2 separate regions of the Homo sapiens genome follow, and region 2 is linked to region 1. The links are contacts of gene promoters, found by promoter capture Hi-C in human tissues and cell types (Jung and others, 2019). All regions are on one chromosome and are shown on one strand. The core of a region is centred on a gene start or on the middle of the fragment in contact, and the rest is flanking DNA. Distances in the headings are between cores, read along the strand shown.

Evidence for each region. The method cuts DNA at HindIII sites, captures the fragments that hold promoters and counts their contacts. A contact is called where the count stands out against the background at its distance.
Region 2: a contact is called between a fragment that was not itself captured here and the fragment with the promoter of HAPLN1 in region 1, in 1 of the 25 tissues and cell types used here (hippocampus).

Annotation. Positions count from the first base shown.
Region 1 is chr5:83,719,596-83,722,295 of GRCh38, reverse strand. HAPLN1 (hyaluronan and proteoglycan link protein 1) reads left to right here and starts at 1,441. Exons shown (of 5, transcript NM_001884.4): 1 at 1,441-1,507. The HindIII fragment of the contact is 27,926 bases long and covers 1-2,700 here.
Region 2 is chr5:83,906,584-83,909,283 of GRCh38, reverse strand. No RefSeq gene overlaps it. Among named protein-coding and RNA genes, the nearest start is that of HAPLN1, 190 kb to the right of the region's middle. The HindIII fragment of the contact is 3,146 bases long and covers 1-2,700 here.

The DNA.
Region 1 (2,700 bases), core at 192-2,691:
CACGGAACCCTCTCCCCAACCCGCGCCACAGCCCGAGCGGCGGCGGCGGCCTTAAGAAGCCCGCAGTCCCGCCCGCGCCGCCCCGCCGGGGCCGGAGGTTGGAGCCGGGAGCACGGCCGCGAATCCCCGCACGTCCCCAGCGCTCCGCGACACCGGGCCCTGCTCGCTGCAACTCGGGGACGGCCTGCGTCTCGCCTCCACCCTGGCCGCGGGCCCCTCGAGCTTGTTTGCTTGTCCTCAGTCCCAGGGCCAGCCCCGCTCCCTCCTCCCGGCTGCTCCAACAGCCGTTTGCTTCCTGCGGTGTGTTTCTTTTTTCCCCTTCCTAGACTCCATCAAAGGTGGCTCTGTTATTGAAATATGAAGCCATTTCCTCTCCAAAACCCTTGGTTACTCAAGGCGGGAATCAATGGACCTATATACTCTCCCAGAAGTTATAAATAAACGTCTATTTGTTCAGGAGGCGTTTTCCCGCGTGTCCCAGCATCTTCCCCACTGGTTATTTCAGGGGTGTGTGTGTCTGTGTGTGTGTGTGTGTGTGTGTGTGTGTGTGTGTGTGCGCGCGCGCGCCCTGTGCCCATCTGGTTCTAATCCTGGTTATGGATCCACAACCCAACCCCACCCATCCCGTCTCCCCCTCGCATTCCTCGTTCTATAAATAAATCCAGGTTCTTTGAGCTCTGTCATCCAAGGATACAATAGCAGTTGTTTGTTAAGAGAAATTTAAACTCAACACCAATACTGAGTCCAGTAAACCAGAAAATATGCTTCTGGTGATTTGGGTGGAAGGCCATCTCCAGTTTAAGAAGCTTTATGTGCCACTATCATCATTGTCTGTTATCCTTGATCTCCTTTGGTGAGGGGAAGGCGGGAAAGAGAGGACCTCTCCGACCCTTGGATTTTTCTTTTAAGCAGAGGCTAATAAAACAAAGCGCAAACTGACTGTCCTGAGGAGTCTGCTCACACCGCTGCCCCGCAGATCATTCCACAGACCCCTTGTCCCATCCCTTCTGGACAGACCCAGGACTGATGAGGGTTCGGGTTCGGGAGGTGTGGTGTGGTGGGGGCTTGTGTGGCTGTAGCGGCCGGCTTTCCTAAACCCCAGAGCGGGATACTCGGGATCTGAGCAGAGGGGAAAGTCATCTAAGAGGCTGCTGCTTTACAAGGTCTGGGCACAGAGCTGCCCCTCCCTTCCTCCCTGAAGTTTGCATGAAGTGCACATTAGGCTGTAATTAGGGGATTTGGGAGGAGAACTTTCCTGGTGACGCTTTGCTTTTCTTCTGCTCTTGGTGAGAAAGTGCCTCCTTCTTCCCAGGATCAGGACCTCTGCCATCCAGCGCCACAAAGAGACATTCTGCACACACACTCACACACGCACACACACACACACTCTCACACTCGCCCAGAGACAAACTTAAGGTGAGGAGAAAGAGCGCTAGCTTCACTTGATCTCCAGCTTCCAACTTAAGCAGAACTTGAGAGCATCCGAACTCCTGGATTTCAGGACAAGGTAAAACTTGCAAATTGTTTCCCCCTCTTTTGGTTATACCTTTGTGCCTTTAAGATTTCAGAGGGCAATACACATGCAATGTATATATACATTAAACAAATTTTATTCTTTTCTTTTGAGTTTAGTTTTCATTTGAATTTAATATGACACCTCAACTTTTAAAAAAGTTTCATATTGTCGGATAAAATATTTCACTACAATAAACAGGCTCAGTCTAAAAATGGAGAAAGAATTAACTCTAGTATCTTAGCTTCTGCTAGTGCTCCTGTAAATCTGGTAGGGTCATGGTTTCCAAGTGGTGACTTTTCTATCTGTATCTCAACAACCATTTTTATAGCACCTGAGATGAAACAAGGATAGTATAGGCTGAAGGGAAAGGTGAGGAATGGGAATGTCCAGCCAGGCTTATGAATTTTGTTTCAGAGAATATATAGGGTTATGTGAAAAAGAAAGTTACTTTAGGCATAGGTAATACCTGTTAGATTAATAATCTTAGAAATGTTGCCATTTTTGGCCCAGGCTTCCTTCTCCAGCTAATTATGAACTTAAGATCATAGAATGATGATGCATTTCATATATACAATGATGTTGATGGATAATTTGAATGCACTGAAGAGAATTTATAGTCATAGTTAAGATTACTGTTAAAAGTTGCTTAAAGAAATTATTTGTATGTTGAGACTGTTCCCCACCAAAAACAAACCTAAACTTGTTTGGGCTTCGATTAAGTAGTTTTCTTCCATTGAATGTGACTGTTGTGTTCAAAATAAGATGGCTTATTAATTTGAGAATAAGTTGCTTTATTTTCATTTATCACTGGAAAAATACACACAGTGGCCAGTACATTTGGGAATTTTTAGGGTGGAAAGTGTTCCTGTACATGTTCCAGTGTGATGTCATAAAATCAAACATACTGGCTGGCTTCTTGGAAGCTAATAGTTCTTAAGAAATTAAGGCTGTGGATTGATTTCTAAATGAATGTAATATTTATTCATTACAATTGTAGTTTCTGGTAACTATTTCTATGTGATTATTTCTGTGTACTAAATTTGCAGAGATTTTATACACATTTCAGTCATTTCAGTATTTTAATGGAATGGGAATATTGTTCTATCAAAAGTATATCATAGTAGTTATCTTTGGAGAATTTTTAATGTGATATGATTCATAATTCTTATATCAGTTAACAAATT
Region 2 (2,700 bases), core at 19-2,518, 190 kb before region 1:
GGTATAATAAAAGCATAACTAGAATTATTTTTCTTTTTTAGCTTAAAACAAGACACATTTATCATCTTACAGTTCTGCAGGTCACATGTCTGAAATGGGTCTCACCGAACTAAAATCAAGGTGTGAAAAGAGTTGGGCTTCTTCTACAGGCTCTGGGAGAGAATCCATTTCCCTGCCTTTTCTATCATCTGAAGGCTGACTGTGTTTCTTCAGATGCTCATGGCCCCTTTGCATCTTCAAAGCCAGCAATTGTAACATTCTGGCCTCTGCTTTCAACATCACATCTCTTTCCCTGACTCTGTTTCTCCTGCTTTCCTCTTCAAGGCCCTCTGTAATTGCATTGTAAGGACGCCTGTGATTACATTGAGCCTACCAGATAATGTAAACTAATCTTCCTATTCTAAAGTCAGCTCATTAGCAACCTTAATTCCAGGAGCAACCTGAATTCCACCTTGCCATGTGACCTAATACATTCACAGTTTTCAGGAACTAGGAAATGAACATCTTGGGAGTGGGTGGTGGGAAGACATTCTTCTGCCTACTGCTCTTTCACATGCCATACAAGGCCCTTCACCATGTAGACTCAAACTGTCTTTCTGGTCTTATCTCCCACCACTTACGTATCGGTAACATATTGCTGCATAACAAGTTACCCTAAAGCTTAGTGGATTAAAATAACATGTATTATCTTGCCATTTCTGTTGGTTGGGAATCCAGGAATGGCTTAATTGGGTTATCTAGCTCAGCATCTCTCTCAAGGCTGTATTCAAAATGTCACCTGGGGCTGCTTTCCTCTCAAAGCTCAACTGAAAAAGAATCTGCTTTCAAGCTTGCTCACATGATTGTTGGCAGGATTCTTCCCTCCCTGGCTATTGACTGGAGGCTACTCTCAGTTATTTTCCACATGGGTTTCTCCATACGGCAGCTCACAACTTGGCATCTGGCTTCAACAGAGCAAGAAGCAAGAAGAGCCAGAGAGAGAATGCAAGCAAGAATGAAGTCGTTCTTTTGTAACCTCATCTCATCACTTTTGCTGCATCATATACATTAGAAGTGAGGCCTACCCACACTCTAGAGAAGGGGATTGTATAAGGGCATGAAAACCAAAAAGTGGTAGCATGGGGCCATGTTAGAACTGCCTAGTGCATCCCAATATGTACCCTGTGCTCTCCCCTCATAAAACAACCTATGTTCCCCAAGAAAGAAAAAAAGTGCTTTGTAACTCATCTTCCCTGTGCTCATTAATCCACTCATTCAAAAATATCTGTTTGACTCCTATTCAGCAACACTAGAACCCTGCTCAAGATACCATGAATCAGAGGGAGAAGTGATTAGCACTGCCTGGGAGGGGTTCCCACTGGAACTGAACTCTGCATTGAGTTTTGAAGAATTAGGAATGGTTCACAAGGGGAACAAGAGATGAAAGTCAAGTCTGAGCAAATGGGCGAAGAATGAAGATTATAGATCATGATCTTGTGTTTCAGGGAACTATAAAAGTTTCTGCAATGACGGAGTATAATTATTGAGCATCTAATGAGGGTATGAGGAAAATGGAACTGTGGGATGTGATGCTGGAATAATACCCAGGGGCAAGATGAAAGGTCATGATACAGGACTTGGGCTTATGAGGTAGAGGTGGCAGTGAAGGGTTCCAATTGTGAGATGAATAATTTGGATTGATGGCTCTGGCAGCCAGTGTGACAGGGAGTGGAAGATGCAAGAAGAGTAACAGACTGAACAGTTAAGAGGCTATTCCGGCAGCAAAAGCAAGCCTTTACCATGTCATGAGAAAGACAATGGCACTGGTAATACAGGAGTCGATTTCACTGAGACCAAAATCCAATGCTTCGTGAAATTCAGAAGTATGCTATGTGATTCCATTGCTCTCAAGTGTTCTTGGTTTTCCACAGTCATCATGTTGCATGTGTATTCCTAAGGAAAGAAGCACTAGAAAGCAAGTCTAGGGCAAAGAAAGATTCAAAACCTGATAGACAATTGACTTGGAGGGTTCAATGAAACCCCTAAATTTTTTGTGTGTGCATGTTTCTAAGTGGACCTATACTTGCATAAAATTCTCAAGGCATCTCTGATATAAAAACGGTGAGAATCACTATTCTATATACAAGCTATTCTCGTCTAGTCTCGTGTCATTTAAAATGCCTCAAAACATTTTTTAAATGCCTTTTGCCACTCATCACCTAATGACCAGACTACAATTTTTAATGGATTCTGAACTTTATGTCTTAAACCATTAATTGTTCTTGCTTACATGGCTGCGTACTTTGAGGCTAGATCTGAATATTTCTTACATGTTAATAAATGGAAGTAAAGATCAGCTATTCATTATAACACTACTAAGACTTTGCTTCTTGTAAATGGATGGGAAGTGGGAATATGACTTTGTATGGAAAAAATAACTTTCATAAAGCCTCTTGTTCAAGTACCTATTTCCTGGAAATGAATTGTTCCATACTTTGGAGATATAATCTAATGGAACATACTTCCCTGGGAGGTTAAGTGTTCTATTTTCTAATGTGAAGAACTATTTAAAACTGCCAGTGTAAAAAGAGTGGGTAAAACTTTAGCATTTCTCCCACTTGTTTAGTGATAACTTTTGATATTCTCTAGTCTGTGTGAATACAATCTCACCACAGCAGTCCTCACACATACTCTCAAGTTCAGCCTTTCTTACACTTCACC